Linked DNA regions of Homo sapiens: regions 1, 3, 4, 5, 6 and 7 are each linked to region 2. The links are contacts of gene promoters, found by promoter capture Hi-C in blood cells and fetal thymus (Javierre and others, 2016). All regions are on one chromosome and are shown on one strand. Each heading gives the region's core, a stretch centred on a gene start or on the middle of the fragment in contact. The rest is flanking DNA. Distances are from core to core; before and after follow the strand shown.

The links. The method cuts DNA at HindIII sites, captures the fragments that hold promoters and counts their contacts. A CHiCAGO score of 5 or more calls a contact.
Region 1: a fragment that was not itself captured here is called in contact with the fragment with the promoter of TLE3 in region 2 in 2 of 17 cell types (neutrophils and M2 macrophages); the score reaches 7.0 in neutrophils.
Region 3: a contact is called between a fragment that was not itself captured here and the fragment with the promoter of TLE3 in region 2, in 1 of 17 cell types (fetal thymus). The highest score is 5.1, in fetal thymus.
Region 4: a fragment that was not itself captured here is called in contact with the fragment with the promoter of TLE3 in region 2 in 4 of 17 cell types (fetal thymus, non-activated CD4 T cells, total CD4 T cells and 1 more); the score reaches 12.5 in fetal thymus.
Region 5: a fragment that was not itself captured here is called in contact with the fragment with the promoter of TLE3 in region 2 in 2 of 17 cell types (total CD8 T cells and neutrophils); the score reaches 6.0 in total CD8 T cells.
Region 6: a contact is called between a fragment that was not itself captured here and the fragment with the promoter of TLE3 in region 2, in 6 of 17 cell types (non-activated CD4 T cells, total B cells, total CD8 T cells and 3 more). The highest score is 7.1, in non-activated CD4 T cells.
Region 7: a fragment that was not itself captured here is called in contact with the fragment with the promoter of TLE3 in region 2 in 2 of 17 cell types (total CD8 T cells and activated CD4 T cells); the score reaches 5.2 in total CD8 T cells.

Annotation. Positions count from the first base shown.
Region 1 is chr15:69,608,424-69,611,649 of GRCh38, forward strand. The region is part of intron 1 of PCAT29 (prostate cancer associated transcript 29); the gene reads left to right. Among named protein-coding and RNA genes, the nearest start is that of PCAT29, 18 kb to the left of the region's middle. The HindIII fragment of the contact is 8,868 bases long and covers 1-3,226 here.
Region 2 is chr15:70,096,256-70,099,852 of GRCh38, forward strand. TLE3 (TLE family member 3, transcriptional corepressor) reads right to left here and starts at 1,662. Exons shown (of 20, transcript NM_001105192.3): 1 at 520-1,662; 2 at 1-6. The coding sequence starts at 543. RefSeq lists silencers at 1-80, 801-920, 931-1,100, 2,690-2,769, 2,840-2,989 and enhancers at 1,920-2,894, 2,982-3,597. The HindIII fragment of the contact is 8,963 bases long and covers 1-3,597 here.
Region 3 is chr15:70,577,201-70,580,736 of GRCh38, forward strand. All of the region lies in intron 1 of LINC02204 (long intergenic non-protein coding RNA 2204), which reads right to left. Among named protein-coding and RNA genes, the nearest start is that of LINC02204, 7.6 kb to the right of the region's middle. RefSeq lists an enhancer at 2,234-3,037. The HindIII fragment of the contact is 1,418 bases long and covers 848-2,265 here.
Region 4 is chr15:70,540,032-70,543,464 of GRCh38, forward strand. No RefSeq gene overlaps it. Among named protein-coding and RNA genes, the nearest start is that of LINC02205, 36 kb to the left of the region's middle. The HindIII fragment of the contact is 1,222 bases long and covers 666-1,887 here.
Region 5 is chr15:69,632,446-69,635,681 of GRCh38, forward strand. All of the region lies in intron 1 of PCAT29 (prostate cancer associated transcript 29), which reads left to right. Among named protein-coding and RNA genes, the nearest start is that of PCAT29, 42 kb to the left of the region's middle. The HindIII fragment of the contact is 1,661 bases long and covers 1,138-2,798 here.
Region 6 is chr15:69,673,674-69,676,926 of GRCh38, forward strand. The region is part of intron 2 of PCAT29 (prostate cancer associated transcript 29); the gene reads left to right. Among named protein-coding and RNA genes, the nearest start is that of PCAT29, 83 kb to the left of the region's middle. The HindIII fragment of the contact is 3,243 bases long and covers 339-3,253 here.
Region 7 is chr15:69,651,988-69,655,686 of GRCh38, forward strand. All of the region lies in intron 1 of PCAT29 (prostate cancer associated transcript 29), which reads left to right. Among named protein-coding and RNA genes, the nearest start is that of PCAT29, 62 kb to the left of the region's middle. The HindIII fragment of the contact is 339 bases long and covers 1,481-1,819 here.

The DNA.
Region 1 (3,226 bases), core at 582-3,081, 490 kb before region 2:
AGTGAAGGAGTGTGGAAAGGAATCTGGAGGGATGTAAAGAGGAAGGGGATTCTAGCTTTTACCTTAGATATCAGATGGGTAAATTGTGAAGACTTTGAATGTCACAAGTAGAAAGATTCTTAGATTCAAGCTGTTCCACATCATTTCCCATATAGGAAAGTGGAAGCCCAGAGGGTGTTCGCGCTGATCTGAGACCACACAGTAAGGTAGTGTCAGAGATGAGACGGGACGAAGTGTGAACCCCCCAGTTCATTAGTCAATTGTTTCTTTGGAACAGAGCATCTAATAAGTTACACAATAAGAATCTGAGTTTTAGTCTTACTGGCCATGCTGGCTGTTTGGTAACTGGTGAGATGGCCTGACGGGAGTCTGTTTGCAAGTGGTGGCTGACAGCCCTCCACGGAAGAGGTGCATCCTGAAGGGGGAAGCCATGGACGATGATTTTACCCAGTGGTATGTGGATTGACATTATGGACATAGCACGGCAGTTGTTTGTTTGTTTGTTTTCTTTTTTTTCTTTTTTTTTTTTTTTGAGACAGCATCTCACTCTATTTCCTAGGCTGGAATGCAGTGGTGCAATCACAGCTCACTGCAGCCTTGACCTCCCAGGCTCAAGCAATCCTCCCATTTTAACCTCTCAAGCGGCTGGGACTACAGGCACGTACCACCATACCTTGCTAATATCTTTAAATTTTTTTTTTTTTTTTTTTGTAGAGACGAGGTCTCACTGTGTTGCTAGGGCTGGTCTCAAACTTCTGACCTCAGGTGATCCACCCGCCTCAGCCTCCCAAAGTGCTGAGATTACAGGCGTGAGCCACTGTGCCCAGCTGGCAGTTGTTTTTCAAGTCTGTTGTCCACCTCGGTTCCTGGACACCATTTGAATGCTCTCCCACGGAGAGCAGAGAGAGAGAGAGAGAGAGAGAGAGAGAGTGTGTGTGTGTGTTTTAAGGGGAGGAATCTACAGTAGAATCTGAAAGAGCTCTTTCACTCATCTCTGAGTCACACTGAACTCCAAGCAGCACTGCTGTGGGTTCCCCATAAGGGAGCATAACAGAGAGACAGCTCTCCCACACCCCACTGTATTTATTATTATTATTACTTTTTGAGATGGAGTCTCACTCTGTTGCTTGGGCTGGAGTGCAGTGGCGCAATCTCGGCTCACTGCAACCTCTACCTCCCGGGTTCAAGTGGTTCTCCTGCCTCAGCCTCCTGAGTAGCTGGGATTACAGGCGCCCATGACCACTCCCGGCTAATTTTAGTAGAGACAGGGTTTCACCATGTTGGCCAGGCTGGTCTCCAACTCCTGACCTCAGGTGATCTGCCCACCTCAGTCTCCCAAAGTGTTGGGATTACAGATGTGAGCCACTGTCCTGGCACCCAACTTTGTTTTAATTCTCTTTCACCCGATTTCCTTCTACTCTTTTTTTTAAAAATTGAAGCAGTTGTGCAGTTTTTTGCAATGTTCAGACTCTGATACTTATGACTCCTTACATCTCAGATCAAGCCGTGGGAAGGCCCGGGCAGGGAATATGATATCCAATGGTCAGTGGAAAGAATGCACTCAGGGAAGTCAAATACATGGTCTAAGTTCCCACAGCTGGAAAGGGATGACCAAGCAGTAGGCTTGACTCTGAAGACCATGCCGTTTTGATTTTACCATATTGGGACTCTCTCCCTCTGCCAACCGTTCCTTTTTCTGAGTCTTTTCCTATTCTTTTTCTCTCTCATCTCTCAACCTTTCCCTTCTTCACCTCCATCTCCCCCATCCTCTCTATCTCTCTCTTTCTCCTTTTCCCCTCTCCCCACTCTTCTGAAAAGCCACAGCTTCTCTCTGTTCTAATATGCCTAAGACATTGTCCCAGAAACTTTCTTATGTGCTTCTTGACACCCAGAGTGACTGAACACAGGTATGTTTGTTGGGAGAGCCTCTGCCTCCATGGGAAGAGAAGCTAACTGGTTGACTTTCTGCTACTTGTACCAGCCAAGGGGCTATTTGCAGACAGTACATAACAATGACAAAGCACCATAAGACATTGAGCAATCTTTCCTTGCATCAATTAGATTCTGACATCTGCTTACTGTTTAATTATCTTTTGACTGAGGAAATGGAAAAGTTGACAAGTAGTTCAACCCAACAAGAGTCAGGTTCCTTATTTTTCCCCCTTCATGAGCATGTTTTTAGAACACTGATCTGCCAGCATCTCCTGGTCTCTCTGGGGCACTGGCAAAAAATACAGACAAATATTTATGTTCCATGAACTCAAGAAGGTTTTCATATTGTTTTCATGTTTAACTGATTTCAAATGAACGACAATGGCTCTTAATGTGGTTACAAGAATTTGCCATTAATTTTCACTTGAAATTGGATGCAGCCGGTGTACATGCCTATACTGTATTCTAGTTCTTAACGATTTGCCTTCCAAAAACATAGGCTGCTTCCTACTGGCTGATGGGCACAGCAGCTTAGTGAGGGTATCGATCTCCTATTACATGTGAACAAAAATTAAATTGAGAATATCACCCTATTTCAGAGTGCTTTGCCTGTAGCATTTGAGGCAGGCGGCTGGGACACTGAATGAAGAGCCTGGGGGAGGCAGGTTCAGCATGCCACCGTTTCCTGGTCATGAAGATGCCAGCTCCAGCTCCAAGCAGGTGACAAGGCTGGGTGGCCAGGGGACATGGGAGTGTGGTTCGAGGTCTCAGAGCATTTTAAAAAACTTCCGTTGTCTTTCTACCTTGGATTTCAGGAGCACCAGGGTAATGTTCTAAACTTCTTTGTGAGGTTTAAAGTCTTCCCTCCCTTGGTCTAAAATGTTGAAGTGGGTGGTGGAACAGAGAGGTGACATGAAGATGAGAGTTGAGCCAGAGGAATAGGATTCTCCATCTTTGGGGACGTCATTTAATTTTGGAAACACTCAGTTTCTGTTTAAGCAGTGTAACCATATAATTTGTTGAACACTTTTGAAGGGGTGAATGTTAAATTGGATAGCATGTTGGGAAAATGGGCTTAAACTGGAGATAAGGTCGACCTATGAATAAAGAAGGGATTAGGCCACATAGCGGGGGTCAGGGGTGGTAAATAGGTTTCATACCCATGGTAATTATGGAAGAGCCATCAGGCTTTCTGGACTGCATTGTGGAGGGGATGGTGCAGCTGCTTTTGAGCACCATGGAAGAGTTTCCTGATTGATTAGCAATGTCTGCTCTAGTCTCTGGGAAGGATGGC
Region 2 (3,597 bases), core at 412-2,911:
GGGAGCCTGGAGCCCGCGAAGACAAGACAGGGGAGGGGGCGGGGGCATGAGACCGCGCTCAGAGCGGCCCCGGCCCCTCCCCAACGGCGCCCAACCAAAAGAGGCCACCCTCAGCCCAGAACCTTCCCAGCAAGTTTCTCAGCTCTCCGACGGGGCGGAGGGGGGGCGCCCCATCTCTCCCCGTCGGCAGCGGGGCTCCCATGCCTTTCACCAAGGGCCTCCCTCTCCCCAGTAAGGCGGGGGCGGGAGACAAGCCGGGTGAGTTGGGAGACTTCAGAGCGGGGCCGGGGACCGCGTGAACAGCTCCCCCTGGAACACAAGCAGCCCCCCGCGCCACTCGCGCGGAATTAACCTCCTCTCTCAACGGCGCCCCCCGGCCGCATCCCCCTTTGTGTGAGAGCACACACACAAACACACACACCATAAAGGTAGCAACAAGCAAAATGGAGGTGCCAGATAAACTGCCTCGTTTACCCTGCCATGATAGATGCTTAAATAAACCGAGTTGCAATTACTCACCGGATGTCTGCCCTGCGGATACATGGCAGGGAGGGGTCGTGATTCCGAGAGCGTGGAAGCGCCGAGAGCCCGGGCCGGGGAGGTGCGGGGGAGGGGGGAGCCGAGCCCGAGCGGGGGGCGGCCGGGAAACCGAGAGCTCGCCCCCGGCCCCCCCAGCTCGTTCTCGCAGCGAAATCCCAGAGTCGGGCGCCCGCCCCAAGTGGAGACAAAGAGCCGCGGAGCAGGCGGCAAAGTCGTCGGCGGGCGCCGGGGCCGGGCGGCGGGCGCGGGCTTTGTGCGCCTAGGGCTCGGCGGGCAGCGGCCGGCCGCCTTCCCTGGGCTGCGTCGAGCGCGTCAATGCCTGGGACTGCGCGGACATCGTCGGCTCCCCAGCAGGTCCGGCGCGGGGTCCCGAGGCCGGGGGCCCCTCCTGGGGCGAGCTCGGGCCCCCTCCGGGTCACTCAGCGGGTCGCGCCTGTAGGGGGGCGCGCCGGGGCAGCCCCAAGCATCCGGGGCGCGCGGGTCCGATCCTAGAGGCGTCCGGGCCTGGGGCTCGCGGCGAGAAGAGGAAGGAGGCGGGCTACGAGGTGGTGGCTTGGGGCCGCAGGAGCGCCGGAGGGTGAGGGCGGGAGCCCGGCGCGGGCGCTTCGACGCCCCCCCTCGGAGAGGAGAGCCTGCTGTTCCGTCTGCTACTGCCGCTGCCGCCGCCGCCGCCGCCGCTGCAAGCCCTTCCCAGGGCCGGGGAGGAACTCCGGGCTCAGTAGGTGCAAATCAAACGCCCTGGCATCCTAAGTCCAGCGGGCACGGGAAGCCTCCGCAAAGGGTTCTCGCTGCTCCCAGCTTGAGCACCGCGTCCCCACCGAGGAGCGCTCAGCGCCACCGCCGCTGCCGCGTCGGAGCGCACAGGCAGGAGAGCGCTGGAGGGGAGACGCAGCCCGAGACCGGGGAGCTCTACGGCTTCCTTCCTTCCCCTCGGCCCGGCTCTCCTCTCCGCGCCCCGGCAAACCCCCAAAACACACACACCCAACACACACACACGCGCGCACGCACACACACACACACCAAAAAAAAAAGTGCCCCGGACCTACGGATACCACACACAGACAGGCGAAGGGGACGAGCACGAGGTCTGAACTGCCGCGAGAGCAGTTCCAAATAGGGACTGAAAAGTAACAAAATAATGTGGCAGCTTCGTCCGGCGCTGGCCAATGGGAGCGCGGGGCCCCCACGTGGGGCTGCGGGACTCGGCCTACGACTGGGTGCCGCTGGGCGCGACGTCACAATGCCCTCTTGTGTCTAAAACTATGCATGAAAAGTAGCAATCAGGCCCTACCCGCTGGTGACTTTCGCATGGGAGTGAAAAACAGCGCTCCTCAGATCAGGAATTAACCGAAAGACATATAATAAATAGATATATATTATAGTCCTGGGCTGCTCGAGTTTTTTTCCTCCTTTTTTTTCCCACGGTCTACTAGCAAATAATTATTTAGCGGGAGGAGGAAAGAGGGAAGACAGAGGAATAACAACAAAAGAAAATAAGACAAGCTGTACAATCTTCAAAACCTGTGGCTGGTAGTAATGTATCAGTTTATTCTGCAGCGGCGGCGAACGATTCCTCCCTCTAATCTCATTAGGTCTGCAAAGCAGCCCAATTAGATACTATAAAACAAACAATCACTTTGTCACTTTAATGTTTTCACTTCAAAAGATTTAGGACTGATAAAACGGTGGCTCCTAAAGTTGCCTCCGACCTTTAAAAATTTGCTCGGAACTCAGGATGTCCCCTTTTCTTCACCCCTTCTTCTGCCCGCCTCCCCCACATTAGCCCCCAGCTCTCCTTTGTTCACTCGCCCTTCTTTTCAGAAAGCCAAATAAACAGCTCCTTTGATGTGCGGCGGCTGCCTGCGAGGAGAAGTCTGAGGGACTCTGGCTAGGCGGGCAGCGCAGATGGAAGGGCCCGGCTGCCCGTGGACAACAGGCTCAGCCACGGCTGGCCCCATTCGGGGCGCCTTCCCCGTGGGCACAACTTCACCCTCGACGCAGCCTCGCCGCGCGGGCTCCTCACTGCATCCCCAGGCTGAGGGGGTTGGGGATGGGGTCGGGACCCTGCTCGGCCGAGGCCCGGGAACTCCGAGTTCCCACCTGGTTTGCTCAGCCTGCTCCCGGCAGTGCCACGGCGTTGGCGGAAGCCTGTAGGTGTCTCGGTCGCTAGCCTGGACACTCCGAGGGACGCGGACGCTCCCCCGCTCGCTCGCCCCGGCCCCGGGCCCCCCGGACCCCCCGCTTGGTCGCACAGGCCACTCGACTCCGGGGCCAGCTTGCCCGCAAACCGATGGCCTCGCCCTCCCGCGCTCGGGGTTACGGCGGGGCAGACGAGCAAGCAGGGAGTGGACCTCAAAGCGCGCACCGCCCGGTGGACGGCCAAGGCGGGACCCCCGGGGCCCTCCCCGGCAAGTCCGCGAGCCCGCGCGCGAGCCGGCCGCGCGTCCCCGGATCTATATTTTCCCCTCATTAGGAGCCGGAGGTTCGCTTTTGCATCTTAATGAGGAGCTGAGAGCTAGCGGGCGCTCGGAGGCCGGAGCGCGGGGAGTTACACGTGAGCACCCGCCTCAGAACTGAACCTCCCCGCGCCCGCTCCGGCCGCCAGCCCCGAACCGCGCTCCCCTCTTCATTTATTTATTCTCCTAAATAAAAACATAAATCGTGTTTCGGCGCGCACCGAAGACGGGGGAGGGAGAAGCCCGGCTCGACAGATGCGAGCATCTGGCCGCAGCATTCATTAGAAACAAAATGGCTCCTCTTTGGCGCTTCCTTTCCCCCTCCCCCTTCTCTGCCCTCCCCCTTACGTCACGGGTGGGCGCACCCGCTTCTTACTCGCCCCGCCCATTTCTCGCTCCAGCCCCACGTGGGGGACGCCGACCACGCCTCCGAGCAAGGTGCGAGTCACCAATCACGGACCGCCGAAGGGGCTCTTCGTTGCTGATTGGCGGAGCTGCTGGGCCCTGTCAGTCCGCGGCCAGAGCTGTCAGTCAAAACCACGCGGGGTGGGGGAGCGCTGACAAATGCCGAGGCTTCTGAGCCTCCCGCTTGCAAATAGTG
Region 3 (3,536 bases), core at 307-2,806, 480 kb after region 2:
ATTACCCCATTGGACAGATAAGGAATCTGCAATAGAGATCAGTGACATATCCTCTTGCCCAATCAGGATTCAAACTCAGGCAGCTTGCCTCCCAGGGAGAGCCCTTAGCCACGATGCTATTCATCCTGTCCAGGTCCTCCCTAATGTGCTGAACAACTGAGTGTGTAGCCTTTGCTTGCACATCACAGTAACGGGTGCTCACTACCCATAGAGGCAGCCTCCTTTTGCAAGACTGAGGATTTAAAGTGGAAAATTCATCTCTATGTTGAGACGAAGTTTCTTTTCTCTTTTTTTTTTTTGAGATAGAGTCTCACTCTGTCACCTGGGCTGGAGTGCAGTGGCACAATCTCAGCTCACTGCAACCTCTGCCTCCAGGGTTCAAGCGATTCTCCTGCCTCAGCTTCCCAAGTAGCTGGGACTACAGGCGCCCACCACCATGCTGGGTTTTTTTTTTTTTTAAGTAGAGATGGGGTTTCACCATGTTGGCCAGGCTAGTTTCAAACTCCTGACCTCAGATGATCCGCCCGCCTCAGCATCCCAAAGTGCTGGGACTACAGGTGTGAGCCACCACACCCGGCTGGGCCTGAGATTTTGCATTTCTCACATGCCCCCAAGTGATGCTGATGCTGTTGGTCCGAGGACCACATTGTGAGGAGCAAGGGTCTAGCTCAGAGTAGGGCTGAGCAGGCCTGCCACCTATCTCTGTAAACGGTGTTTTATTGGCACACGTCTAACCCATTGGCTCCCACATTGTCTGTGGCTGCTTCCATGCCGCAACTCAGTTGAGTGGTCGTGACAGAAACCATGAGGCCCACAAAGTCTAAAATGTCTGCCCCTTTATAGAAAAAGCTTGCCTGCCCTTGCTTTAAATGACCACCCTTCAAATTTTGAAAAGCTCTGCCCCGTCCTCCACCCATAGCCTCTGAGCCATCTCATCGCAGGCTGAACATTCCAGGCTTCATTACCCCTCCCATCAAGTGCCCTGGGCATCCTGGTGTCTAACCGTGAGCACACCCAGGTTTGCCAGGACCCCCTCTGAAGAAAGAGCCTCATCCCCCAGACACTCCACTATAGGAGTAACTGAGATATTTCTCTTCGTGGGAAGGTCAGCACGTGGCGCCTCCATGGTCCTGCCGAGCCTTCTGCCCTGGGTCTCAGCCCCCGAAAGACATCCTGCCCTGCTCCCTGGCACTCTCTCCCTCCTCCTCTCCTTCCCACACTCTCTGCTGCCCCACTGGCTCTTCAGCTTTCTGCTGAACAGTTGACAGTAACTGCCACCGGATGCTGGTTACCACTCTGGTACTCAGGCCATTAGGAAGTTGGCACCCAGGCCACTGCAGAATAGGCCTTCCATTCTAGAGGCTATCGGGGGAAGCTCTACGTGGTTCCGTCCTTGTGGAGTAGGTGTATCTGGCCCCCGGCTGCTCTCAGAACTAGAAGGCAGGATCTCAGGGCTGGGAGATTACCAGGAGCCTTATTAACCACTGCGTCTGTGACCTCAAGGCCCAAGCTCACTGCATGGGCATCTCTAGTGACTAGACATGGCTCAGAGGGGTCTCCTTGCAACTCAAGGGGGTGGCCTTAAAGACACGGCCCTGCCCTTAGGCAAGGCAAGAAACCCCTTAGCTGGAGTGATCTAGGACTGAGAAGTTCCTGATATGCTCCACACCTTTTTATTTCTTGAGACAGAGTCTTGCTCTGTTGCCCAGGCTGGAGTGCAGTGGCGCTATCTCAGCTCGCTGCAACCTCTGCCTCCCAAGTTCAAGCGATTCTCGTCCCTCAGCCTCCCAGGTAGCTAGGATGACAGGCATCCACCGGCACACCCATTTTTTCTTTTTTTTTTTTTTTTTTTTTTTAGTAGAGACAGAGTTTCACCATGTTGGCCAGGCTGGTCTTGAACTCCTGATCTTAGGCAAGCCACCGCCTCAGCCTCCCAAAGTGCTAGGATTGCAGGCATGAGCCACCAGGCCCAGCCCACACCTGCTTTTTAAAAAATTCGTTTCTGGCAGCTATTGAGCATTTAAAATGTGGCTCCCGTAAATGTAGTCCTGAAAGACTACATTTATTTTATTTAACTGTAAAAAGCCACACATGATGAGTGGCTACTAAATTGGACAGTACAGTATCTAGCTCAGGTATAAAATTCACACATCAAATTCATTAGAATTTGATCTAATTCTGTGACCTCAAGGACGGAGCTCACTGCACGGGCATCTCTAGTGGCTGGGCATGGCTCAGAGCGGTCTCCTTGCAACTCAAGGGGGAAGCTTTAAAGACCCGGCCCTGCCCTTAGGCAAGGCAAGTTCATTAGAATTTGATCATTTCTACTCTTTGGGGCTTGGTCAAAAATTTCCCCGGGGAGAAGTCACCTATGGAGCTATTCTGAGTCACTGGTTCCTCCATATGAAACAAGGCACTAAGAATAGAGTTAATTTGGGAGGCCGGAAAAGGGGGCCCTGGAAGTCACAGGAATCCAGGAAAGAAGGAAAAGAACAAGCTCAGGCCAATTGGAGATCAAAAACACCAAACAATTAACTCTGCCAACCTGGGGACCCCACTAGGACCTTGGTGGTGGCCAATCCAGTTGGAGGACATCAATTTCTACTTGATAATTGGAAGGAAGGGAAGGAGGAAGAGAAGGAAAGAAGGATGGAGGGGAAAGAGCCATTCCTCATTGTCCTGACCCTCAAGGAATTTGTAATCTAGTTCAAGAAACAGAATCACAATAGCTGAAACCGCTGGAGAACAATGAGGTGCTAAGTTGTGGCACTGCCATGTCTAAAGCAGAAATCCCAGGACTGGGGACATGGGTGGGGGCTGAATCGCACTGAAGAAGTGGGAGTGGGCTTGGGCAGGAAAACAAACAGATTTCATTTGGACTAAAGGGAAAGAGAAGACACCCCGGACAAGAGGCAGGCTGGGACAAATGCAAGAGGAGGAGGCATCAGGGCTCAGTGGCAGCAGATCCTGTGCCCCTGATTAGGGTGAAGGGCTGGGGTTGGGGGAAGAGAGGATGAGGGTGGGGTGCCAAGGCGAAGCTGGGCTTGGGGGTCCTGGACAGCACAAGGGCGGGAGTTTGGGCTTCAGTCATTTTCTAGCTTTCTGAAAAGGAAAAAGAAGTTGTCCAGGGCTCCTGCAGAGGCTCCTTCTGCAAAGTCCGTGCAAGCAATGCCAAGGGTCAAGGGGTGGGAGGAGCCAGTGGCTGAGCCGGTGGGTCCTAGCCCCCTTGTGCAGGATGCAGCTCCTGTGGCTGCTCTGAAAGCAAACAGCCCGGCTAAAACGTCTTTAGAACCACTCCGCACTGCGGTGAACCTTCCTATGCAAGCGCCCTCCCTTCTCTCTTTTTGAAGGTGTCAGACTCTGGCCAGCTCCTGCTCCTTGCCCTTGAACCCTGCACCGGCGTTTCCCATTTGGCACATCTAATTCTGTGGTCGAGTCTGCTTCTCATAGGACCCAAAATAACAAAAGAGGGATAGAGAATTCTATTCTCTCCAAAGAGATTACATCCTCCTTGAGGGTTGAGGGCTCTCCACGAC
Region 4 (3,433 bases), core at 27-2,526, 440 kb after region 2:
GTCATGCACATGCACACACCTGCACACTCCAGCTGGGACCTCTGGCCTTCCAGGTCTCGCTCCCAGGCCCTGGAGTCTGTGGAGAGAGGCCTGTCCCTCCATGTAGAGGACAGGAGTTCTCCATGGTCTCGTTAGCCATCCTGCACCCCCTCCCACTGCAGCCATAGGAATCCATCCAAGCAGGGATGGCAATGAGAGGGACTTGGCCTCAGGCACGGGAGCGTTTGCCACGGCCAGGCCAGCTGTCAACTCCAAAGAAGCCGGAGTTGCTGGAGAAAGTGACAGACGACGTCCCGGGGAGCTCACGAACCCCATCTGCCCATGGCCAGGCGGAGCAACACCCTTTCAAGACATCCAGCTGAGGCATCTCAAGCCCCCAGCTGCACAGCTTGGTGAAGCCAGCAGCTCCTCCCAGGTTCTGGGAATTCCCAGAGCTTCCCCTGCTGTGGGATCCTGGGGCCATCACCACTTCACATTGAGGGGGGCCATCACCACCTCACATTGAGTCGATGGAAACTCCCCTTTTCCACATAATAAATAAAGAAATAAGCCAATAAATAATCACACATACTTGCCTGGTCCATCACACCAACAGCTGAACTTACTGAAAACACTGAGGTCCTGAAAAGAGACCACATCCACACCTTATTGCCAGCAAGTTAAAAAGCTTCTTAGTTCCTGACACACGGTGAGTGTTTCTCCCCAACCTTCATGGGCTCTTCTCTTCCACCCTTACTCAGCCTCTCTTCTCGCTCATCCTGCCCCACCCTCAGGAGCAGTGGAAATGGCTCCCCTGGCCACATTGCAGCCAAGCTCCTGCCACATTCCAGCAGGGCTATGTACAATCATCTCTCACTGCAAGGACCACCTTTGGTCTGCTCCTTCACCCCAATTTATTTATCAATGTATTTTCCCTCTTTTTTTTTTTAACCTATAAGTTTCTGCATGTTTCTGTGTGCTTAAATTCTACATAAGATTTCTTCTAAGTTTGAAAATCATGCTGCCTTTTTCTAGCCAGCATAGGTGAGGTTGCAGCATAGGTGAGGTTGCAGCATAGGTGAGGTTGCAGCATAGGTGAGAAATATGCTGCCTTTTTCTAGCCAGCATAGGTGAGGTTGATAGCAGATTTTTTAAAATCCAGTTTTAGAGATGAGAATCCAGCAACTCAGAGAGGCTAAGTACCTTCCCCAGGGTCACACAGGCAGTCAGTGGAAGAGTCAGGACTCCCACTTGAGTGTGGTTGCCATTGCAGCCGGAGATCATGCAAATGAGCCACTCCTTCTTGTCACCTCACCACTCCTGAAACAGAGTCAATAATTTATCCAGAACCGTTAATTTTCTAAAAAAAAGTCAGACATTTCTATCAGCATTAGTTTCTTTCATGTTCCATCTGTGATGAGGACAAGCAGAAATACCATGCTGCTTACTGACATTCTTATGTGGCTTTAGGGGCTCCTTGGGGCTAAGCTGCATGTTCACTGGGTTAGAGACAAATGACACTGCCCTGCACCTACAGTTTCAGAGTGAGAGTAGAGGCCAGGGGCTCGGAAACTCACAACCCCAGACTGCCAGAGTGGGGCCAGGTCTAGAGTACCTCTGGTCTGGCTCTATGAATTTTAGAGATGAGGAAACTGCAGCCCACTGTTGTAGCAACACAGGCAGGAGCCAGGGATTCCAGGAATTTGTAACCTTCTGTGTGTCCTGGCCTGCTCTGGTTCTTTCTTGTTCTCAGCAGGTAAGTAGGAGAAGCATTGCCAAGTATGGGGTAATGAGGAAGGTTGTCTTGCTCTTCAAGCCTGATGGAGATGCCTGATTGTCTGAGACCAGCCTCATCCACCACTCCCACCATTTCCATTACTCCCTACCCTGGCTTTCTTTGTGGGCAGAAGCTTGCAAACATCCTTGATTACCCGGTGATTACCCTAATCACCCAATTACCTTTACCCAAGAAGTGAAGGGCAGGAGAGTATGTTCACATCAGCTTGACTTTAGTTCAAGCTCCTGTAGAAAATGGAGAGAAGTAACAAGCATAGCTGAGATCTCTCTATTTCCTGAGGCTAGAATAAGATTAGGAAGACTTCAACTCCAATCTTTGAGCATTAACCCTCACATGCATGTGAGGAAACTGCCCACGGCTGGGCAAGGAGTAGGTCAAACAATCCCCAGAGCTCACACAGAGCCTGCAATAATTTTTAATCCCAGCTTCCAGAGTGAAATAGACCTCCGTATACACAGGGCATCAGGTAAAATCCTCAGAAAACTATTGCCTTAATAGTGGAGTGAAATTAGCCCTAGACCAAAGACTGTCAACCCATGTCAACAAAGTGTAAAAACAAGTTTTAAAGGGATCAAACTGATTTCAAGCAACCTAACTGCAATCCCAGAACAAAGCCCAACAATAATTAAAGGAATGCAGCAAAATCCAACACCCAACACAGTAAAATCCAAAATGTACACAGTCAAAAATTTCCAGGCACATCTGCTCTCTCCTCTCCTATTTGACATTGCACTGGAGATTCTGGCAAGTATATTAGGCAAGCAAAAGAAATAAAAGGCATCCAGATCATAAAGGAAAAAGTAAAAGTATCTCTATTTACAGATAGTGTGATATTATATATAGAAAACCCTAAGGAATCTACAAAAAATAAACTATTAGAGCTATAAACAAGCTTGGTAAAGTTGCAGGACACAACAACAGTACACAAAATGTATGTAAAAATGTAGCAATAACAACTATAACATGAAATTAAGAAAGCAATTTCATTTGCAATAGCATCAAAAAGAATAAAATACTTAAAATAAATTTAACCAAAGAAGTGCAAGACTTGTATACTGAAAACTAGAAAACATCGTTGAAAGAAATTAAAGAAGATCTAAATAGGTGGCAAAACATCTTGTGTTCAGGAACTGGAAGTCTTAATATTTTAAGATGGCAATACCGGCTGAATATCTCTAATTCAAAAATCCAAAATCTGAAATGCTCCAAAATCTGAAACTTTTTGAGCATTGACATTATGTCACAAGTGGAAAACACCATACCTGTCCTTATGTTATGGGTCATAGTCAAAACGCAGACACAGAACACATATTCAGTGTAACCAAGGGGAAAAGACCCCTCAGCCTCCTTCAGCTGTGATAGATCTTTTCTGCACACAGCATGATGGTAATGCCAAACAACCATAGATTGTCCACATGAGTGGCTGAGATGGTGACACCTTTGCTTTCTTATGGTTCAATGTATACAAACTTTGTTTCATGCACAATCTTATTTTAAAATATTGTATAAGAATACCTTCAGGCTGTATGTAATGTTTATATGGAACATAAATAAATTTCATGTTTAGACTTAGGTCCCATCTCTGAGATATCTCATTATGTATATGCAAATATTCCAAAATCCCAAAGAATCTGAAATCTGAAACACTTCTGGTCC
Region 5 (3,236 bases), core at 718-3,217, 460 kb before region 2:
TTTCCTGAAAATTCTAGCCAATGCAAAATTTCATGAAGTCAGGGGAAAAAAGGACCTTAACTACTGAAAATAAGACAAAACTATTATTGGTTTTAGGTTATATAATCACATATGCAGAAAACAAGATGAATCACTAGAAAAACCCTTAGAATGTATAATAGAGCTTGGTATCGTGACCGAATAAATGGTAACCCTAAAAATCTCAGGGTCCCATATGGTTTAGTCTCAGCACAGAGTTATACTAAAAGGAAATCTAAGTTGGACTCCAGAAACCTGGAATGGTCACGTGGACTTTTAGGGCAGGCTTTCTTAAAAAGGCTTGTCATGCCCAGAGGTTTTACATATCCCGCGACATAGAAAATTTTCCAGAAATTCTCTCTAGATGTTCGTTTCTCTCTCCAAAACTACACACTCAGGGCAGAGGCTAGTATGCAGTCACTTCTCTGTTCAGGTAGTTCTTCCATTGCCGGCATCTCCCCTCCCACCTACATTTTCTCCTTCGCTGGTGGACCCCACTGCCCTGAATCTGATCAGACATCCTTGTGACCTTCTGATTGTCTCCCCACCCACACTGAGGAAAGGACTGAACCCTTGGGGACCATAGCTTTTCTTTCTCTTTCTGTCTCTCTTTGACCAATTTTTTGTTTTTTGTTTTGTTTTGTTTTGAAGACAGACTTTCACTCTTGTTGCCCAGGCTGGAGTGCAATGAAACGATTTTGGCTCACTGCAACCTCCACCCCCTGGGTTCAAGCGATTCTCCTGCCTTAGCCTCCCAAGTAGCTGGGATTAGAGGTGCCCTCCACCATGCCTGGCTAATTTTTGTTTTTTTGTAGATATGGGGTTTCAACATGTTGGCCAGGCTGGTCTCGAACTCCTGACCTCAGGTGATCCACCAGCCTCAGCTTCCCAAAGTGCTGGAATTACAGGTATGAGCCACTGCGCCCAGACTCTCTTTGACCAATTTTCTTGTGAATTATCACTGGGAACATTGCTAGTGAATATATTCTCCTCTCTGATACACAAGATAAATACACAAAAATCAATAACTTTCTTATGGACCCACAATAACTAGTGTGAAAAGAAAAGCAAACAAAAACATAATCTACCTCTGAACAATTCTCAGTGAGAAATGTGTAAAGCTTTCATAAAGAAAGTGACAAAATTTTATGAGTTTTGTGTAAGAGAAGACCTGAATAAGTGGAGAAATATGACGGGTTCTTGGTTGGGGAAAAGGAACAACGAAAGATGTTAGTTTCTCCTGAATTAATACATAAGTCTAGCAAAACCTCAATGGAAACTTTTCATAATTCATCAGAACAACTTTACAATGAATCTGGAAGAATGACAAGTTAAAAACAGCTAAGACATTTTTGAAAGAACACGAAGACAGGATTTCCTTTAACATAGATTAGAATATATTTTAAAGCTACAGCAACTGTCCAGCAAGGTACTGGCTCAAGAACAAGTCAGCATCAGTGGCACATAACTGACCTCTGAAACCAAACTTACAAGCAAAATGAAATAAAAAGAAGCATTGCAAATCCATGAGAAAGGGTTGGATTAACAAATGCTGTTGAGAAAATTGACTACTTGGAAGCCAATCTTTTTAGATCTTAATCTTTTTCTCAGGCAAATTCCAAGCAAGTTATAGCATTAAGTATTTAAAAACCTCATAGCAAAATATGAAAGTTTAAGTGAATATTTAAATGATCTTAAAGTGGGTAATACATATTTAACTTAAGAACAATTGGAGAAATCACGAAGGAAATTGTCAGTAGAATTGCCTACACAAAGCTCTAAATGTATATTTTTAAAAAAGAAACTACAAAAATAAAAAGGTAAATGACAAATTGGGAAAAATGCTTGCAACAGGTATGGCGAAAGGCTAATAGCCTTAAGAATACAAAGAGTTCTAACAAAGTCTAAAGAAAAAAAGGACTAACATCCCAGCAAAAAAAACTGGCAGAGAACATTCACAAAATAAGACATACAGATGGCTAACGTATGAGAAAATGTTTAATTTTACCATTAGCCAAAGAAATGAGAAATAGAACAATAATAAAATCCCATTTTCACTTGTCCAGTTATTAAGATTGGAGATGATGATGATGATGATATGTGTTAGCAACTAGGTGATGATATTGGAACATAAATTGGCACAACCTGTCTGGAAAAATTTAAACAGTTTTCATATTTTTGGACTCCATGGTCCTACTTCTAGGAACCCATACTAAGAAAACACTGGCAATGAGATCAGGATGTTCATGAGAGCATTATTTATCAGACTTAAATATTGGAAATAATTGTTATATATGTAACAAATGAGGATTGATAAAATAGAGTATATTTATATTGTAGAAAACATTTTTAAGGCATATATTCAAAAAATACTTAATAACATGGGAATGTGCTTGCAATGGATTGTTAAACTTTTAAAAAAAATAATCAAAGCTCTGTGTGTGCGTGTGTGTGTGTTTGTGTGTTCATATGTATGTGTGCTGAATCTGAATTTTCTACTCTTCTGTAGGTAGTCGGGAGAGCCAGAGTTAATATGATCTGTTATTTACCTTCATGCCCTCAGTCTCCTCACCTGTGAAATGGGATCATAATGCTCGACTCTCAGGGCTGTGTGAGAATGAAATGAGACCGCTTATATGAACAGGATGTAGGTCTAATCTTTCATGCATCTGTGTCTTCCCTATTCAAGGAAGTTGGCTTTTCCTAAGGGCAGGAACTGTGTGACTCCTTGACCTGTAAGAGAAAGTGTTGTACGGGGTGTTCATTAGGATCTAAAGTTAAGCTTTAAAGTTCTGGGACCATGTTGAGTTCCAGCCTTGACATTATCTCATGCTTCTTGCATGACTTTAGGCAACTCACCATCTGCCCATGGGCTCCAGCTCCTTGGGATCAGATGAGAAAATGGCTATGCTCCCTTCAAGAGCTAACAGGATGTGATTCTCTTTTAACCTCACAATTAAAAGTCACAGCCATCTCATAGTTTGTCTGGGTCAGGGATGGCCTCGCAGGGCTCTCAGGCTGGGCTACTGCCCATGGACAGATGGATTGACCAGTGGAAGGATGGAGTAATTATGCTCACACATGGCAGCAGGGGTCTTCTTCTGTTTTGTCCACTTATGTGTCGCCAGTACCCAGAGCCGGGTATGGCTTTTGGTGAATGCTCAGCACTCATTGACTGAATGAAGAATGAATGGAAAGATGGACTGATGGATAGATTG
Region 6 (3,253 bases), core at 710-3,209, 420 kb before region 2:
ATTTCAGCTAGGTCAGCATTATTTTATGTTAAATCCCATCAAAACAAAAAAATAAAGAAATAAGGAAGCGCTATAGTACATTGTTTTGCTTCGTTTTTAATTTGAACTTTTTAGTAATAACACAAATGGTCAAATCTGCCTACCTCCTCCCACACACCCCAACCCCATCTCCCATTCCCACACCCCCTCTAAGTAATGTCAACACACATTCTCATGGACTCATATGGTGTGGGTAGGCATTGCCTTGCTGTGGAATTAGAAAGTATTCCTACCATTATAATTTTGTGCTAAATAGTGAGAATATAAAAGCTTTCCTATTTTCTTTCTTTTTTTCACCAAGCTTTCGCATGACCCATACCTGCGCTTTTCTATAACATGTCCACGTGTTAAAAACTCAGCCATTTATCAGAAAAATAGGGACTGACATCTATTTAAAAAATTAAATTGCGCTGGAGGATAGGAACCAAGAACCACAGTAAAAGCTGGGAGGCTTTTCTCCTGTACTCCAGGAGGGTGGCTTTTCATCCAGAATGCCCCAGGAGAGACGGTTGACCATTCTGGATGGCTCCTTCGTCGCTTCGTGAGAATCAGCTGCCTCCGTAGGAGATGCTGGGCCCTGTAGCGCAGGGATCCCACTTAGACTTCCCTTTATGGGTTCACATGTGGCTTTGTTTATAAACACAGTATTTCAGGGGGAAAGGCAAGCAGGCATCACGTGCCAGGAGGTAAGGGAAGCACAGAAGCAGGAATATCTAAGAGGCCCCTGCAAACCTTTTCTGGCCATTGATGGCAAAAAAGGATCAGGGTTTCCCTAACTCACCTCCTTGCAACCTGGAGAGCCACTAGCATCTTTGTGTACACAAGGGCCAGGTTTATTTTGGGAATCCTTAAATGTAAACCCAATACAGCAGCGATGAGAGTATTTATATCAGCAGCAAAGTGCAAGAACAGCCTGTGAACTGGAAACCTCTTGGACTGGAAAAGTCCAAGTGCTCAGAAGAAGGTAGGTAGACCAGCATTTCTCAAACTTAAATATGCCCAAGAATCCCCCTGGGGATCTTGTTTAAATAAAGACCAAGATTCTGCAAAGGGCCTAAGATGTTGCATTTCTAAAAGTGCCCAGGCAATGCTGCTGCTGATGCTGGTCCTTGGACCCCACTTTGAGTGGTGAGGGTGTAGGCTAGGTCCCTTTTTCCAGGAAGGCTTATATTCAGGTTACTGGGCTCAGGTGCTGTGATGGGGGTTGGGGGGACGTGGTTTCGTGTTGGCTTCCAGATTGTGCCTTAGATGGACATGATTGGCTCATACAGGATGGTGGCCGGGGGTGCTGGGCAGGCATGGGCATGGGACAGAACACAGGACCATGAGTCAGGAGAAGTGGATTCTCCTGGCACCACCTGGCTCCCCTACTCAGCTGTGGAGTAGTAGAGAGTATTTGATGACAGGGAGGTCATTGGCAGCTTTCAGAAGAGCAGATATAAAGTCTCTAGGATGTGTTAGGTCAAAAATCTAAGTGTAATGGGGTGTGTATGGTAGGCTGACACTGAGTAAAGAAAGTGAGGGACCACATACACATAGATGAGTTTGTGTAAATGGAGAACTTCTCATTCTGAAAAGATACACAAGAAACCATAAACAGTGGTTGACTTTGGGGGGGAGAAACTGAGAAAGAAGATACATGGAGCAAGAAGAGACTCCCTCCAATTGAAACACTCACTTCTCTGACCACAGTGATTGGTTCAGTGGGCTTGGACCTGTGACATGCCCTGTTCCAATCAGAGTGAGTCTCTGGATATTTGCTGGACTGTGTTGTTCTCCATCTCATTCCAGTGAGACTCACTTGTCAACATCTGCTGATATCTGCCATCCAGTGTGTTGTTCAGACAGTTGTTCCCCTCCTTGCTGGCATCAGCTGGGACATGACAGTGTCCTCATCTGATCTCACAGGACATCCTCTCCTGTTGTTGTGAGTCCCCTGCGAGGCTCTGCCTTTCAGGTGACCCCTCTGCCCCACTCCTTGTGGGCATGGAGAAGCCCATCTATTCTCTCTGCACCAGGCTGAGTGAGGGAGTGGCACTCTCTGTGTCCATATGTCTGGGCTCCTCCACTGGACAGGGATCTCTCTCTAAGGTTTGCTATCATCCCAAGGCCCCTCCCTTCTTGTTTCCCAAACTGGCCAGAGATTTCTGGGTCTGATACTTACTTCCTCTCCCACTGAGATTGGACCACAGGAGGAGTGAAGCATGTGACTCCTTGTCCCTGCCTCACATATCAGTAGCTCCTTCTGCTGCTCTCACCTCTGCCTCCGCCCACCCCACCCCTCTTAGTTATCCATGTCTAATCTCGGCAGCATGGCAGTCTGGTTCTCCAGCTCTCCTTTTTCTAATCTAGACTTTATGCCCCAATTCCTTCAGAGCTTTGCTTCTGATGATGCTAAAACTAGGCTTTTAGAACTGGAAAAAAAAAAAAAACAGTTTTTGCAAATCAAAAGCCTTATCTTTCAAGAACTTGTCTCTGCTATGAGTACCAAAGTTCTATTTTGAAATGAAAAGAGTTGACTGTTTCTCTTCTCCTCACATTCCGTGTTCCTGATCTAACAGTCCTAATCTTGCTTGAGGCCAGGCACCTTCGCCTTGGGTACATGGGTGTGGGAAGTATGATCTTCCTGCTGTGGCATCAATGGCCCTTCAGCTCCCCGCAGCCTTCCTAAGTTCTGCAGGGGAATAGGAGAAAACAATTTTGGAGTTGGGGCACCCAACTAGTGGCAGAAATAGTCCCACTTCTGCCACTCAATTGTTGTGCGACCTAGGGAGTGGCTGAATCCTTTTGAACCTCGCTTTTCTTATCTGCAAAATGGGGAGAGCAACAACCACCTCTCAAGGTTGTTTCAGGATCAAGGCAGATAACATATGTGAAAGTGCTTTGCAAATCACAACGTATGGTATAAACATGAAGCATCATTACTTTCCAGTGTTCTTAACTTCTTTGTGTAGTTTTCCCTGCCAAAGGCTTCTGTCTTGAGCTCGCATGGCAATTTGCTCACAGAGCCATGAACGTATTGTATTGTGCCGAACTTATATTTTAACATGTCTGCTGGCTTGCACTGTTTGTGAGTGCTTGGAGGGCAGGGACCACACCTATGTGATCTTGGCACCTCTTGCCTTCAGCCAGTGTCTGAAGTAGGTGCCCAGCATGTGTTTGTTGATGAAGGGGTAGACACTTAGCAAGTACTCAGTAGATTCATGTAATATAA
Region 7 (3,699 bases), core at 400-2,899, 440 kb before region 2:
GTGATGCTCTGAGGACTTTAGCATGGGAAACTTAAGCAGGAGCCTGGGGCTGGGGCAGGCAGAGAGTACAAAGTAATGGGAGATCAAGGTGCAAAGGTAGGTTTTTCTCTTTCTGTGGTTGACTGGTGCTTTGATGTTTTCAAAGAAGGACACTTGCATGGTTTGGAAATGACTGTTGGGACACCATCCAGCCTGCTGCCATCAGGACATCAGAAGAGGCAGTGTTGTCCAGTGGAATGGGAATCCCTGGGGAGGCTGCTTAGCCTTTCTAAGCCTCAGTTCCCACATCCGTAAAATGGTCATAATAACACCTACCTTGAGTTTTGTGAAGATAAATAGCTTAGACTCCTGTGCAGAGGGTTGGCAAGCACTCAGTCCAGCACCTGACCTATTGTAGGTGTCCACGCAATGTTCACCCTCTCCTACCTTGCCACTGATCACTCTAGTCCACCCTGATGTTACTAGGTTAGCTCTGAAATCAGTTCTCCCCATTGTGAAATGGAGACAGTGTGAAGCAAGCAGGAAGTATTAGAGAGGCTCTGTAGAATTGTGGTTTTGAGCTTGAAGGGTCTGGATGCATGACAAATGTTTGTTGATTGAATGATTGATTATAGCTCCCTACATCCACCATAATACTTAGCATGGAGGTGGGAGCACATAGGAGGTACCTAATAAATAACCATGGACTTGTAACAAATATAAAAAGAACCTGAAAGAGTAGAAGGTGGGTGACACCCTTTCCAAAGCAGACCAGACAGGTAGATGCTGGGACTGAGCTGATGAAATTTGCACCAAACCTCCAAATATATTCAGAATCAGGGAATTAGGAGACAACGGAGGAGGCTGCCAAAAAGAATTTATCTCTGAAGTGGAGCTTGGGGAATAGCACTAATATTTTCGGAAATTGAAACTCCAACCATGAAATTGCCTATCATTTATCATACATGGTCTCTCAAAGGGGAAACGGGAAAGCATTTAGTCTTATTGCTTTTTAAACACATGATTGCTGAGCATAGCCATCCAGGCTGAGGTTTTAAGAGACAATGTGTCTGAAAGAGTCTGGCCAGCAAGTCACTCCAACCTAATGCAAGGCTGCTCTCTGCAGACTCTCCTATGCCAAGCACCCTGAGCCACGCGTGGTGAGGGTGCAACCCAGGCCAGGCTTGGGTGACTGGGTGTGGTGCCAATTCTAGCTTTCATAGAAAACTCTAAGTCTGAATTTTCCCCCAGCTCCTTCTTGATGCCCAATAGCTATCTCATTATTAAAGTCATTTGCACTTTTAGTTCCAAACTTCTTTGGAAAGGGTCCCACTGATGACTTCCACTTCCACCTCTATATTGATGCTTATCAAATTTCTCTTTCCTAGACCTACTGGGGATTTCAGGCCTCTATGTGAAACCACCACCCAGGTCTCTTCAACTGAAATGCCCATAGGTTCATCAAATGCAGCATGTTTGAACTGTAGACAACATTCTCCCAAGCTTCCTGGCTTGGCAAAAGGCATCCCTGCTGCCCTGAGAGCTGGAACAGACTCTGAGACACAGAATGACAATCGCCCATGTGTGTCAGCAGTTTGAAGGTGGCATTCTGCTATCACAGGGCTCATGATAGTTGATCTCCCAACAAGGGGCAGGTTGAGAATATCCACTAGTGGATCTGAGGTCAGTGAATAGGAAAGGAGGCTGGGGACTTTCTGGAGCAGCTCTTATACAGTGAGCCCAGTGTTTGCACTTGGACTGATATATGTTTGAAATTGTAAGGGAGACAGGAGGTGAGCACAGACTAAAGTCCTCTCAAGCCACCCTTCTGCTCCCAATAAGCTTGTAAGGAGAGCAGGGAAGGAACTGTTAAATTGTTATTACCATCCATAGATGAAGAACCTGAGTTTGCAAGAGACTGTATAACTTATCCAAAGCCACAAAGCTAGAGGTGGTGTCCATGAGATTCCCACCAGGCCTCCTGATGACCAGCATCGTGTTCTTTCTCCTGAACAGAGAAGTGCCCAGGACAATGGCCAGTACACTTGACAGCGAGTCAGAGGATGTGAGTTCTCACTCCTGCATGGCCACTAAAAATACCCAGCTACTGCCTGCTCTGCAGTCCTTGAGTGGGCCCTGGGAAATGGGGGTGTCTATGAAGCAGCCCCCCTGGGGCTCTGCACTCTCCCTGGACAGTGCATTCTCACCTCTGGCTACAGTGACCATCTCTGTACTGATGACATCTGGATCCTCATCTTTAACCCAATCTGTAGGACACCTCTCTTGGGAAACCCTACAGGCACCACTAAGTGAATATGTGTTTTGGGAATTCCAAATTCCTTCCTGGAAATCTTCATCTCGAGCCCTCATTAACTTCCTTCCCGCCAGAAAGGCTCTCAAGTTAGGTTTCACTGATTTTCTCTCACATTTCTTCCAGAACCACCACCACAAATGGTTGTCATGAATGTGCCTTTGCATTCTGTGAGACTACTGTTGATTTTTGCATTGTCCTGCATGCTATCCAATGCCTCTTGTATAAGGATCACTAAGGCAAATGCCTGCTATAATTGAGTCCTGGCCAGGGTTGGGGGTAGGCTGGACACTGAGATCTCTGGAAACAGCAATATTTTTCCTTTTAGTAAACATCCAGACTCAAACATTTCCCTTCATAGCTTGATTACCAGAAAGCTCAGACAAAATGAAGTGCTCCATTCTAGCAATTGTATTAGCCCACATTGTAATATATATTTTTCTTTTTCTTTGTACATGTCAATTTTTTATTGTGGTAAAATATGCATAGCATAAAACTTATTTATTTTATTTTATTTTTTTTGAGACGGAGTCTCGCTCTGTTGCCAAGCTGGAGTGCAATGGCACGATCTCGGCTCACTGCGACCTCCGCCTCCCGGGTTCAAGGGATTCTCCTGCCTCAACCTCCCAAGTAGCTGGGATTACAGGTGCCTGCCACTCTCGGCTAATTTTTGTATTTTTAGTAGAGATGGGGTTTCACCATGTTGGCCAGGTTGGTCTCAAACTCCTGACTTCAGGTGATTCACCTGCCTCTGCCTCCCAAAGTGCTAGGATTACAGGCGTGAGCCATGTGCCTGGCCTAAAACTTATTTTTTTTTTAAACTATTTTTAAGTGTACAGTTCAGCAACATTAAATGCATTCATATTGCTGTGCAGCCATCACCACCATCCATCTGCAATATTTTTTCTTTTATTAAAGATCCAGACTCAAACATTTCTCTTCATAGCCTGGTTACCAGAAAGCTCAGACAAAATGAAGTGCTCCATCCTAGCAATTGTATTAGCCCACGTTGTAATATATATTTTTCTTTTTCTTTGTATATGTCTATTTTTTATTGTGGTAAAATATGCATAGCATAAAACTTTTTAAAAACTATTTTAAGTATATAGTTCAGCAATATTAAATGCATTTATATTGCTGTGCAGCGTCACCACCATCCATCTTCAGAACGTTTTTTAAAATCTTCCCAAACTGAAACCCTATACCCATTAAACAATGATTTCCCATTACCTTCTCCCCTCAACCCCTGACAATCACCATTCTACTTTCTGTCTCTGTGAATTTGGCTTCTCTAGGCACCTCTGTACATGGGACCCTACGGTGTTTGTCCTTTTGTGACTGGCTAATTACACTTAGCATAACATCCTTAAGGTTCACCATGTTGTAGCATGTGCCAGAATTCCCTTCCT